Linked DNA regions of Homo sapiens: all the other regions are linked to region 3. Evidence: promoter capture Hi-C in human tissues and cell types (Jung and others, 2019). All regions are on one chromosome and are shown on one strand. The core of a region is centred on a gene start or on the middle of the fragment in contact, and the rest is flanking DNA. Distances in the headings are between cores, read along the strand shown.

What was found. The method cuts DNA at HindIII sites, captures the fragments that hold promoters and counts their contacts. A contact is called where the count stands out against the background at its distance.
Region 1: a contact is called between the fragment with the promoter of ADAMTSL5 here and the fragment with the promoter of ABHD17A in region 3, in 1 of the 25 tissues and cell types used here (dorsolateral prefrontal cortex).
Region 2: a contact is called between the fragment with the promoter of NDUFS7 here and the fragment with the promoter of ABHD17A in region 3, in 1 of the 25 tissues and cell types used here (dorsolateral prefrontal cortex).
Region 4: the fragment with the promoter of DAZAP1 here is called in contact with the fragment with the promoter of ABHD17A in region 3 in 1 of the 25 tissues and cell types used here (lymphoblastoid cells).

Annotation. Positions count from the first base shown.
Region 1 is chr19:1,511,569-1,514,906 of GRCh38, forward strand. ADAMTSL5 (ADAMTS like 5) reads right to left here and starts at 1,451. Exons shown (of 12, transcript NM_213604.3): 1 at 1,395-1,451. RefSeq lists silencers at 1,276-1,645, 2,485-2,564. The HindIII fragment of the contact is 17,964 bases long and covers 1-3,338 here.
Region 2 is chr19:1,382,578-1,385,757 of GRCh38, forward strand. It overlaps NDUFS7 (NADH:ubiquinone oxidoreductase core subunit S7), which reads left to right and starts at 1,330. Exons shown (of 8, transcript NM_024407.5): 1 at 1,330-1,365. The coding sequence starts at 1,350. It overlaps TRF-GAA1-6 (tRNA-Phe (anticodon GAA) 1-6), which reads right to left and starts at 857; the gene lies at 785-857. TRN-GTT2-6 (tRNA-Asn (anticodon GTT) 2-6) reads left to right here and starts at 986; the gene lies at 986-1,059. RefSeq lists silencers at 700-829, 1,010-1,149, 1,400-1,459. The HindIII fragment of the contact is 12,722 bases long and covers 1-3,180 here.
Region 3 is chr19:1,884,094-1,887,161 of GRCh38, forward strand. ABHD17A (abhydrolase domain containing 17A, depalmitoylase) reads right to left here and starts at 1,403. Exons shown (of 5, transcript NM_001130111.2): 1 at 1,259-1,403. RefSeq lists a silencer at 668-815 and an enhancer at 2,982-3,068. The HindIII fragment of the contact is 23,112 bases long and covers 1-3,068 here.
Region 4 is chr19:1,405,981-1,409,162 of GRCh38, forward strand. DAZAP1 (DAZ associated protein 1) reads left to right here and starts at 1,606. Exons shown (of 12, transcript NM_018959.4): 1 at 1,606-1,822. The coding sequence starts at 1,794. RefSeq lists silencers at 1,450-1,679, 1,820-2,029, 2,410-2,509. The HindIII fragment of the contact is 8,178 bases long and covers 1-3,182 here.

The sequences.
Region 1 (3,338 bases), core at 201-2,700, 370 kb before region 3:
GGTGCCTCCTAGGGCTGGGGCCCCCTCCCCGCCCTCCCCACCATCACTGCTTCTACCTTTCCGTGTGGCCTGAGGCCAGCCACTCCACTCTCCCAGGCCTCAGTTTCCCCATCTGTGCAGTGGGGGCCAAGTGGACTCAGTCCATGATTCTGTGACACCCTGCGGAAGGTGCGGCCGGCAGGGGCTGGATCAGGAGTTGGGTCCCTAGAAGAGGCCCTCAGCTGCACCCCGGCCCCAGGGCTCCCTCAGCTCCCAGACAGCAGGGAGTCCCCCGGATTGGGGATGGGACAGGGAGGGGGTGACCTGGCCCAGGTCCGTTCGGTGCCTCATGGCCTCATCGGCGGAGGGGGTGGGACTGAGCTCCGGGGCAGCCCGTGGAGGGAAGGGGCCACTGCTGAGGCTGGAGCAGGGAAGGGGAGGAGGCTGACTGCCTCTCTGGGCCTTAGTTTCTCCATCCTGTCAGGGCAGGGATGAAGTCACTTGCCATCCACACCCTCCTCATGACCCCAGCCTGCAGGGGGAAAGAGGGGGGAAGGGAAGCAGCCGCCAAGTGAGCCAGGGCGTCCTGCTGCCAGCAGAGCCTGAAGGCAGGTGGGTGAGCCCCGGCCCGGGCACCAGCTGGGGAAGAGGCTGGGTCCCACCTGGACCCTGTTTCCCTGGCTCCAGCATTTGGACTTCTGAGGCACCAAGGGTCTAGGGTCCTGGGTATCTCTAGGTACTGAGACAGCTGTGTGGTCTGCTGCATCCGTGCCCCTCTCTGAGCCTAGAGCCTGGGCTGGCCCAGGAAGCAGGAAGAAGTCTGCACCAGAAACTTAAAACAAGGGGAGGGGGGCCAGGTGCGGTGGCTCACGCCTGTAATCCCAGCACTTTGGGAGGCCAAGACAGGCGGATCACCTGAGGTCAGAAGTTTGGGACCAGCCTGACCAACATGGTAAAACCCCATCTGTACTAAAACACAAAAATTAGCCCGGTGTGGTGGTGCACACCTGTAATCCCAGCTACTTGGGAGGCTAAGGCAGGAGAATCGCTTGAACCCAGGAGGCGGAGGTTGCAGTGAGCCGAGATGGGGCCAATGCACTCCAGCCTGGGCGACATAGTGAGACTCAGTCTCAAAAACAACCAACCAACCAAAAAAAACAGGGGGAGGGGGCTTGACCTTCTGACCACCCCCACCGGACTCTAAGCCTGGTTTGAGGAGTGGGGGTCTAGGTGGTGAAAAGTGGGGGGCTACAAGGACCACCCTACCCCCTCCTCAATGGGCCCTGCCCAGAATCAAGGCTCTCCCCTCCCCGTGTGGGCTGCAGCCCGGACTGGCGGAGGGATCTCAAGGCAAGCCGCACCTCTGGGCCTCAGTTTCCCCCGGAGAAAGTGGGAGGATAGGCAGATGGACTTACCGGCTGCGCGGAGCCCAGGCAGCGCGTCCCGGCTCCCTGAGCGGCCCCAGGGCGAGCGGAAGCGGCGGGGCCCAAGGTGCTGGGCGGGGTGGGGAGCCTGGGACGGTCCCTCCCACCGCGGCCTCCGCAGGCGCGCCCAGGCCCGGGTCAGGAGGGGCGGCGGCCCCGGGCGCCCTCGCGCGGCGGGCGCGGATCTGCGGCAGGGGACTGCCCGGCGGACGCGAGCGCAGGGGTCCCGGAGCCGCAGGCTGGTGTCGGGCGCCCGGGTCCGGGTGACCTTGGCAGGCTCGGGCGGGGGCGCGGCGCGGGGACTGACCGCCCTCCTCTGCCCCGGGGCTGCTATTCCGGGCGCCGCGCTCAGGGCCCGGGAATGTGCGCGAACCGAGGTCACCCCGCCCTGGGTCTGGGAGTCCCGGGCGCTGCCCCTACCCCGCCGACGCCCGGATTGCGTCCCACCGGCGTCCCCATCCCCGGTCACAGCCCCCTCCCCTGGTCCTGCCCCTCACCCCTCTCGCGGGGGGTCGACCTGCTCGTGGATGGGGACCCTGGCGCGCCTGGGCTCCCATCCGGGGGTTCCCCGACCCAGGTCCCGGTCACCCCCAGCGCAGGGCCCCAGCGCACTGGGGAGAGGCTCGGCCCCGTGGGCCGCGCGCGGGGGGCGGAGAGACCCTCCCAGCTGGCGCATTCCCGGGCGCTGCTGTCACCAGGGGACGCGCCCCACCCCGCCTCCCGCCCTCCCTGCCGGGCCCCGGGGCTGCCAGCGGGGCTTCAGAGCCAGACCCGGGTCCAGGCGGTCCCTCTCCCTCACAGCCGCGGCCACACCCTCTCCGGCCTCAGTTTCCCCATCCCAGCAGTGGGCCCGGCAGGGATCTCCACCGCGAACCTTCCATCTGGAATCCGGCTCTGCGCGGACCGGCAACGCGAGGGGGCACCCCGGGACTCCCCCCACCCCACCCTTTCCCGCCGGGCGTCTGTGAGCCGCCCCGTGCCCACCCACGCAGGGATGAGACCAGGCCCTGGGTTCTGGGCTCCACCAGTTTCTGGTGTCGCCCCACGGCGCCCCCTGGCGGGCGGGCTGAGGGACTGGGGCACTAAAGGAGGGGGTGGAGGGACTGTCCTGCTCCCTGGGCTCCACCCAGGCTCGGTCTGAGCACCCCCTCCTCCAGGAAGCCCACCCTGCTGTCCCACAGCGCTGACCACAGGGAGAGAGGTTTGCTGGGGACATACAGGGTGTTGCTGGTCCAACTCAGTCTGCCCTCCAGCCTGTAGCATGTCAGCAGAGCCACCCATATGCCATTTATTGAGCACCTACTGTGTGCACAGCTGTGAACAACCCAGCCAGTCCCAGGCCAGCGGGTAAGGCAGCCCCCTGGAATGTATGACCCCCCACCTTCTGACCTGGACTATTGGAGAAAATAGCCCAGGCCCACCACTGATGGCCCCAGGTTGGGGGGTGGTGGTTGCGGGGATGTCAAGAAGGCCCTCACTGAAGGGGTCAAGAGAGAAGGGCAGGCCGGGCGCGGCGCCTCATGCCTGGAATCCCAGCACTGTGGGAGGCCGAGGCAGGCGGATCACCTGAGGTCAGGAGTTTGAAGCCAGCTTGGACAACATGGTGAAACCCAGTATCTACTAAAAATATAAAACTTAGCCAGGCATGGCGGTGAGTGCCTGTAATCCCAGCTACTCGGAAGACTGAGGCACGAGAATCGCTTAAACCCGGGAGGCAGAGGTGGCAGTGAGCCGAGATCACGCCACTGCACTCCAGCCTGGGAGACAGGCGAGACTCCGTCTCAAAAAAAAAAAAAAAAAAAAAAAAGGAAAGAAAGAAAGAAAGAAGTCAGCTCAGGACATGTGTCAATGTGTCATTAGGACAATTGTATCCTCCTCAGATGTGCCCCATTCCCAGATGTCCAGTCCACAGAGCTCCACTGGGAGTGCAGACAG
Region 2 (3,180 bases), core at 80-2,579, 500 kb before region 3:
CGAATTCAGTAAACACTTGTTGTGGTCCTCAAGGGGCCCCCAGTCTTGCTAGTCACCTGTGTTCACCTAATTTGAGCCTCTGTTTTCTTTACTTTTTCTTTTTCTTTTTTCTTTTTTTTTTTTTTTTGAGATGGAGTCTCACTCTGTCGCCCAGGCTGGAGTGCGGTGGCACGATCTCAGCTCATTGCAACCTCCGCTTCCCGGATTCAAGTGATTCTCTTGCCTCAGCCTCCCGAGTAGCTGGGATTTAGATACAGGGTTTCACCATATTGGCCAGGTTGGTTTTGAACTCCTGACCTCAGGTGATTTGCCTGCCTCAGCCTCCCAAAGTGCTGGGATTACAGGCGTGAACCACCGCACCGGCCTTTGCCTCTGTTTTTGTAATCATAAAACAGGCAGACAAAACCTCCAGTGGAATTGTGAAAATTAAATGATATGCATGCAGAAAGCGTTCTGCAAACTCTGTTTTGCTAGTTTGGGTGTTTAGTGTTAGTTTTTATATCATTAGTACTGGTTGTAAACTTATCAATTTAAGCAAGATGGAAAATCGAGGGTGTGTCAGGGAAGGGGGAAGTTTGAGCTGAAATTATGACCTCTTAGGGGTGGGAAGAGGAGGCTTTGGGGTTGTGAGGTCTGAGCCCCCTTACTTTGGGATGAGTCCACATCGCGGCGACTCCTCTGCAGAATGCGGTGATGTTGCGGTAAGGGGTCCGGGATAGCTGCGAGGCAGCTGGACCAATCCTGAACGAAAGACATCAGTGATCGCAAGAGGCGCTAAAACTTCTGCCGAAACCCGGGATCGAACCAGGGACCTTTAGATCTTCAGTCTAACGCTCTCCCAACTGAGCTATTTCGGCTGGGCGGCAGAGTCGCTCTCGCCGGGACTCCGTCCCGCGCTGCGCCTTCCCTGCGCAGGCGCAGTCGTTTCGCGTCAGCAGGCCCCACATCCTTTGTAAGGTCTCCCAGGGCGCCGGAGCGCAGTGTCGTCTCTGTGGCGCAATCGGTTAGCGCGTTCGGCTGTTAACCGAAAGGTTGGTGGTTCGAGCCCACCCAGGGACGCGTGGTGACTTTTGCCCTCCTGGAATAACAAGAAAATGAGTGTCGCCTCTGTTTTTGTCGGTCCGCCGCAGACCCGCGGCCCCCACGTGCGCACTCCGATGACCTTTCCGCCTCGGGTGATCTGGGGGTGCACGGCGCAACACGACCACGGAGGCCGAAAGCGCAGCGGAACCTCCCGGCTCCAGGTTCCGGTTTCCGCATGCGCTCCGAGCCGCTTTGGGCGGCGGCCCCGGGAACCCGGAGCGCTAAGGAGAACGGACCTCAGAGGTTGTCTGAAGGCCGAGGCCAAGATGGCGGTGCTGTCAGGTGAGCGCGGCACCGGCGGCGGGTGTGGGGCCGCGCGGGTCTGGGGCCGTGGGAGCCTCGGGTGTCGTGGTGGCGTCGGGGGTCGGTGCCGGCGTCGTGGCCGCGGTCCTCTCCGGGCTTCTCCGAGCCGGCCGCTCCTCGGGCTCCCCGCCCGGCTTGCGATGAACGGTCGCCGTTATTGCGTCCAGAGTACAGTCGGGGAAACCGAGGCCCGGTAGGTCATGACGCAAGCCTCCAGCCTCAGGAAGGCGCTCGGGGTGGAGGCTGGAGGGGCCCCATTCACGTCCCCGAGACCAGGGCACGGCCCGCGAGGCTGCTCTTGAGATGCCCTGGAGAGAGCGGGGCCTGCCTGACAGGCTGGGAAACTGAGGCCCATTGAGGGTCTTCGAGGTCACAGGGCCGGGCCTGGGAAGGAACAGGACCCAGGACATCCACGCCACCCTGCTGGACCCTCCACCTCCCTCCCCACCCCTGGGAGGTAAGGGCCTCTCGCAGAGCCTGTCCTGCTCCAGGGACTTTTTTGGGATCAGCTGAAGCCTGCGGACCTCTGCTCAGATAAAGTTATTAAATGCATGGAATAAAATCCATAGAATTGCAAGGAAATCAGTTACACGGAGAGGCAGTTATTAAAAGATTGTCTTGAAACCTGATTGGCGACTTAGTAATCTAAGTGCTTCCCTTATGAACGCGATCTAGCGGCAGGTCTAATTGCGACTGTGATTTGGAAGGAGTGAGGAGTGGAAATGAGGCTTTGATGATACGGAAACGTCTGCAGCCCCTGCACCATAGCTAGGAAACATCTGTGATTCCGCTTGGTGAAAAGTTACAGGTCCTGCTAATACTGCCGTATTTTGTTGTCTATGCTAAGAATTTTTTATTTATTTATTAAGACAGGGTCTGCCTCTGTCGCTCAGACTGGAGTGCAGTGGTGCCATCTTGGCTCATCACTGCAACCTGTGCCTCCCAGGCTCAAGCGATTCTGGCACTTCAGTGTCCTGTGTAGCTGGGACCACAGGTGTGCGCCACCATGCCTGGCTAGTTTTTGTATTTTTAGTAGAGATGGGGGTCTTGCCCTGTTGCCCAGGCTGGTCTCGAACTTCTGAGTTCAAGCAATCCTCCCACCTGAGCCTCCCAAAGTGCTGGGAGCCACGGCACCCAGCCTACGCTAAGAATTGAATGAAGGGCTAATTTTCCATAAGATGCTGGTGACAACAAAGACATATATATTTTTTTATTCCAAGCAAATTCACAGTTCTGAATCCTCACCAGGCCCCTTGTTAAGAATGCCTGGCCCACGCGCGGTGGCTCACGCCTGTAATCCCAGCACTTTGGAAGGCCAAGGTGGGCGGATCACCTGAGGTCCGGAGTTCGAGACCAGCCTGGCCAACATGGAGAAACCCCGTCTCTACTAAAAATACAAAATCAGCTGGGTGTGGTGGCGCATGCCTGTAATCGCAGCTACTGGGGGGCTGGGGCAAGAGAATCGCTTGAACCCGGGAGGCGGAGGTTGCAGTGAGCTAAGATTGCACCATTGCACTCCATCCTGGGCAACAAGAGTGAAACTCCGTCTCAAAAACAAAAACAAAAACAAACCAGCTGGGCGTGGTGGCTCAGGCCTGTAATCCCAGCACTTTGGGAGGCCGAGGTGGGCGGATCCCCTGAGTTCGGGAGTTCAAGACCAGCCTGATCAACATGGAGAAACCCTGTCTCTACTAAAAAATGCAAAATTAGCTGAGCGTGGTAGCAGGCGCCTGTAATCCCAGCTACTCGGGAGGCTGAGGCAGGAGAATAGCTTGAACCTGGGAGGTGGAGGTT
Region 3 (3,068 bases), core at 153-2,652:
AAGCTGGGACAGGACCCCTTACACGCTCTTTCCACAGCTTGTATTTTTCACACGTTTGGCCAGATCTCCCCCCACCTCCAAACCAGAAACTCTATGAGAGCAGGACCATGACCTGCCACTCACTAAAGGAATGGGCAGGTGGTAGGCAGCACAGAATTAAGGAGGAAGCACAGGAGGAAAAGAATCCCCAAGGTCCGCCAGCTTTGACAGGGAAGGGAAAGTCTAGTCTCCTCTCCTCTCCAGCCACAGGTACCTGGAACCTCCCTAGTGTCACTAATGGGCGTGGACTGGGGAGTGCAAACCCAGACGCCTCACTCACTGGGCACACACCCTTGACACCCTGAATCCCACCAATTCCGTTCCCACGCACTTAACTGGGCAACCCTCTGCAAGCTAGAGGTGTTCTGAGGACCAGCAAGCAACCGAGCAGCCAAAATACTGGAAGATGACCTACATATGGGAGACGGTGACTGCACCTCACTCAACCAGTCAGGGTGGGAAACCCGCCTGGGGGGAGGCGCGGCCATATCAGAGGGCAGACAAACGGGCCAGGTGACAGGGGGATGGGACAGAGGGACAAGCAGGAGCAAAATCCGAGGTGACAGAGCAGGCTCCTGGCTAGAGCAGACCCTGGGAGGAAGAAGTGAGCAGAAGGGTCCTAAGAGAGAGCCTGGGACGGGTGAGGTCGCGCCCCCGAGAGTTTGCACTTCATCCTGGGAGAAATGGCGGGGCCGCGAAGAAGTCCCGAGCAAGCGATGGACAACATAGGAGAAGGGCTGCATCCCGGAGAACGGACGCGAGCGGAGGCCGGGAAGCCCGCCCAGGAGTCAGGGTGGCAGGAAGAAGCCTGACAAGGGAAACAGCGACTGGGAGCTGGTTGGGAAGCAGGGCTCGGGAGGGCCCCTGGGAGCTGCCTTGGGGGGCGAGAGGCCGAAGCGTTTGTCGGACTGGGGGCAGTTTCGGGGCAAAAGAGCGGAATCCGCGGCTCGGACGGGTGCTCCCCGAAGGCAAGGGCCGCGTCCGCAGGAGGGTGGGAGCGCAACCCACGCCGGAGGGCTGAATGGATGGGGACAGGGCTTTCCCAATCACAGACGCTCATCCGCGGTCCGCGCCCCTGCTCTGGGCTCCTCGGGCAGGACCCGCGGAAGCCCTGGGACTGCAGGGGTCTCGGGGACGTCCAACCGGGCTGTCAGGCCCTCGAGGCCCGGCCCGGGACCCCGCGCGGCCGCGCCCGCCCCCGCCCCTGCCCGGCACTCACCACCCCGGCCCGCGCCCCCGGGCCCCAGGGCCGCGCTCCATGGCTCCCGGCCGCCCGCCCGTGCGTCCGTCGGTCCCTCCGCACCCCTGCCCGGCCTCCTGCACCGCCACCGCCGCAGCTCCCCCCACGGACGGAAGTGAGCCTCGTTCTCACCACCGCCCCGGAAGTGACGCGAGGAGCGCGCGGGGCGGGGGTCTGCAGGCACAGAGCGACCGCGCGACTAGCGTCCTGGGGGCGGGGCTGATATGTCGAGGGGCGTGGCCTGCTGCTCTGTGGGCGGGGCCAAACTTAGGTTTCATTCACTTGGGGACCCGGAATAGGTTGAGGCCAGTAAAGTTCTCGCCTGGAAAACAAAATTTACAGGGACGCCAAAAAAAACTCAGACATCAACATTTAGAAATGTTTTAAAATATTTTTCTTTATGAGATGGAGTCGCGCTCTGTCGCCCAGGCTGGAGTACAATGGCGCGATCTCAGCTCACTGCAACTTCTGCCTCCTGGGATCAAGCGATTCTCCTGCCTCAGCCTCCTGAGTAGCTGGGATTACCGGCGCCCACCACCATGCCCAGCTAATTTTTGTGTTTTCAGTAGAGACGGGGTTTCCCCATGTTGGCCAGTGTGGCCTCGAACTCCTGACCCCAGAATCCTCCTGCCTCAGCCTCCCAAAGTGTTGGGATTACAGGCATCAGCCACCGCACCTGGCCTCTTTTTTTTAACATAGAGTCTACTCTGTCACCCAGGCTGGTGCCATCATAGCTCACTGCAGCCTCGACCTCCCAGGATCAAGTGAACCTCCTACTTCAGCCTCCTGAGTAGCTAGGACTATAGGCACAAGCCACCATGACCAGCTTATTTAAAGTCTTTATATATTGCTCATCAGAAATTCTTTTGCATTAGTTTTTAAAATATTACATTAGGCCGGGCACGGTGGCTCATGCCTGTAATCCCAGCACTTTGGGAGACTGAAACAGGTAGATCACCTGAAGTCAGGAGTTTGAGACCAAGCCTGACCAACGTGGTGAAACCCTGTCTCTACTAAAAATACAAATATTAGCCGGGCATGGTGGCACGCGCCTGTAGTCCCAGCTACTCCGGAGGCTGAGGCAGGAGAATCGCTTGAACCCGGGAGGCGAAGGTTGCAGTGAGCCAAGATCGGGCCACTGTGCTCCAGCCCAAGTGACAGAGCAAGAAGACTGTCTCAGATAAATAAATAAATAAATAAATAAATAAATAAATAAATAAATAAAACTATGATCACTCCACTGCATTCCAGCCTGGGCGAGAGAGCAAGATCCTGTCTCTTAAAAAAATTTCATTATGGGCTGGGCGCGGTGGCTCACGCCTATAATCCCAGCACTTTGGGAGGCCGAGTCGGGCAGATCATGAGGTTAGGAGATCAAGACCATCCTGGCTAACACGGTGAAACCTCATCTCTACTAAAAATACAAAAAGATAGCCGGGCGTGGTGGCGGGCGCCTGTAGTCCCAGCTACTCGGGAGGCTGAGGCAGGAGAACGGCGTGAACCCAGGAGGCAGAGCTTGCAGTGAGCTGAGACCGCGCCACTGCACTCCAGACTGGGCGACAGAGCGAGACTCCGTCTCAAAAAAAAAAAAAATTGCATTATGGCAGGGCCTAGTGGCTCACGCCTGTAATCTCAGCACTTTGGGAGAACGAGGCAGGCAGATCACCTGAAGTTAGGAGTTCAGCCTGGCCAACATGGTGAAATCCTGTCTCTACTAAAAATACAAAAATTAGGCCACCCTGGCCAACATGGTGAAACCCCATCTCTACTAAAAATACAAAAATTAGCC
Region 4 (3,182 bases), core at 356-2,855, 480 kb before region 3:
TGTAGTGGCACGATCTCGGCTCACTGCAAGCTCTGCCTCCTGGGTTCAAGCAATTCTACTGCCTCAGCCTCCTGAGTAGCTGGGACTACAGGCGCCTGCCACCATGCCGAGCTAATTTTTTGTACTTTTAGTAGAGACGGGGTTTCACCATGTTAGCCAGGATGGTCTCGATCTCCTGACCTCGTGATCCGCCCACCTTGGCCTCCCAAACTGCTGGGATTCCAGGAGTGAGCCACCATGCTCGGCCCTTTTTTTTCTAAGAGGGAGTCTTGCTCTGTTGCCCAGGTTGGTGTGCAGTGGCGCGATCTCGGCTCACTGCAACCTCTACTTCCTGCCTTCAAGCATTTCTCCGGCCTTAGCTTCCCGAGTAGCTGGGATTACAGGCGCCCACCACCACGCCCGGCTAATTTTCTTTTGTATTTTTAGTAGAGACGGGGTTTCACTATATATGTTGGCTAGGCTGGTCTCGATCTCCTGACCTAAATTGATCCTCGGCCTCCCAAAGTGTTGGGATTATAGGCGTGCGCCACCTCACCCGGCCTTGTTCCTTGTATTTATTTAATTCTGTGATGATGAATAAACCAAACGATCAGGCTGTCAATGTGCTGTGAGATTAAGGAGAAAAGCAGTAGGCAGCACGTACCCGGTTTTACAAAACCCTGCGGGTCACCTGTTTACTACCGTCAGCCTAGACCGGTTTTTCCACCTCCTTCTGCTGACATTGGAGGACGGGTATCATTCTTTTTGGGGGGTCGTCGTGTGCACTGCAGGGTGCTGAGCGGCATGTCTGGTCTGGACCCACTCGATGCCAGCAGCACCCCGCACTCAAGTTGTGACAACCAAAACCGTGTTTTCAGACATTGCCAAGTTATCCCCTAGGGGGCAAAGTCACCCAGAAGAAGAACCACTGATGTATGCAATTAACAGATGCAACTAAAACAGTATTTGGCTATTAATAGTAATAGCACTTGGGGGGGGGGTCAATAATATCTTTTCATAGTCATTGAATTTAGTTAATTGTTTTGATTTGATTCCAGTTCAGCCCCGAACTGGGTGACCTTGGCCAAGTGACTCAGCCTCTCGGACCCTCGGGATCCTCTTCTGTGAAATGCGGACAGGGGAAGGAGCCTCGCGCGGGACGCTCACGTGCCGTTCCCGCTCCGTCCGCCCGCCTGGGGTGCGGGCGGGTACACTCCCACTCCCCGCAGCGCCCCACGCGGCTCCACCGCTTCCGAGTGAAGAGTTAAAGAGGAAGCGGCAGCCGCGCCTGCGCCCACAGTGCCTAGCCCGGAGCGCCGGTCTCGCAAGCGCGCACGCGCACGCAAGCCCGCACGCGCGCGCACGCACGCACGTGGCTCGGCCCGCGCGCATCCTCCCCTTGCAGGGGCGGGGCCAGCGCAGGGACTCCATTTCCCAGCGTGCCCCGCGGCAACGCCAGGAGCCTCCGAGGAGAAAGGAAAACGCGCGACGGCCCCGACTGCGGCGGCGCGAAATCCGCCTCAGGGACGCACGCACAGACGGAGTACCCCTGGACCCGCCCCCGGAGACCCCGTGCGGGAGCGCGCCCGGGCGTGCGCAGGGGCGGCGGCGCGGCGGCGCGGGGACGCGCGGTGACCGTTGGCGCCGAGGGGAGGAGGCAGCCGCCGCCGCCGCCGCCGCCGCCGCCGCCGCCGCCGCCGCCGTTGCGCAGATCCGGGCCGCGGCTGTGGGGAGGGCGACGGAGCGGGTGACCTTCCGGAGGCGGGAGCGAGCGAGGAGGCCCGGGAGCGCCGAGCGTCGCCGCCGCCGCCGCCATGAACAACTCGGGCGCCGACGAGATCGGGTGAGGACGAGCGGCGCGGGCCTGCGTCTCCGCCCCGAGCCCGGCCCGCCGCTCCCCGCCGCCCGGCCTCAGACGCCGCCCCCCGGGGCCGCCCCGTCAAGGTCACGCCGGCCGGGGGCGGACTCGGGACCCGGACTCGCCGCGGCTTCGCGCCGGGGGCCCTGGACGGGTGCCCGGGGTCTGGGGGGGTCCTGGCGCCCCCGCCGCCGCTTCCCGGCTTCCCGTCCTGGGGGATCCTGAAGGAGAGCCTGAGGGGTCCGGGGGGCCCCGCCGCCGCCTCCAGACTTCCTGGTCGGGGGAACCCCGAACGGCAACCTGGGGGGGTGTCCTGGGGCGCCCGTGCCGCCGCTTCCCGACTGCGCGTCCTGAGGGACCCCGAATGGGAGCCAGAGGGGTTCAGGGGCCCCCGCCGCCGCTTCCTGGTTGTGGCGGCCCCGAACGGGAACTTGGGGGGGTCTGGAGCGTCCCCGTTGCCGCCTGTAGGGCTTCCTGGCCTGGGGGACCCCGAATGAGAACCTGAGGGAGTCTGCGGGGAGTCCAGGGCGCCGTCGCCGCCGCCTCCCGGCTTCCTGGCCAGGGGGACCCCAAACTGTGGCGTGGGGGGTGGTCCGGGGCGCCCCCAGCGCGCGCCCAAACTTGGCGGGCGGCGCACGTGGCGAGCCGAGGCGAGGGTTCCGGTTCTGCCACCGCCCAACCTATCCCACTCGGGGCTCCGGGCTCCCCGCTCCCATCCCACCCCCCCAAAGTGGTAAGGTCGGGAGGGGTTCGCAAACCCAGGGCCCAGGGGGCTCGGGTCAGCCGGGGCCTGCTGTGTTTACGTTGCCTCGGCGCCTCCCCGCCGGGGGTGGGCTTGAGCTGCGGAAGGGAGAGTCAGCGCTTCCGAGGCGGCGACGGGCCCGCGGATCTTTGCTGCGCCGAGGCGTCCCCTCCTATAGGAGCCTGACCTGCTCCGGACCCCGCGGGGCCGGGAAACCTCATTTCGCTGTGCCCCAGGGCTCGGCGCCATTCTTTGGTAGGAGCGGCTCCTGCCGCAGCGACGTCGTTTTAGAGTTGCATTCTTCCGGCAAAACAGTCTGGGTTGGGTTTCCTAGTGGTCTGGTGTAAATTTCTCGGTGCCCTTAGCTTTGAGCAGCGCCCTGTGTTCTCAGCGCTGGGCTTGGCTAGTGCGGGAGCGGTTGCTGCTAGAGGGTTGCCTTGGCAGGCGCCTCTCGCACCAGCTACAGGTCACACTTGTGGATGGGAAATGCCTTTTGTGGGCTCTCCCCCTCCCCAGACAAAACAAAAGAGCACCTTCCGTTGGAGAACCAGGATGAAAGCACTTAGCCCCTGCCTAGCCCGTGCTGTGAGTCCTCTCCAGGCA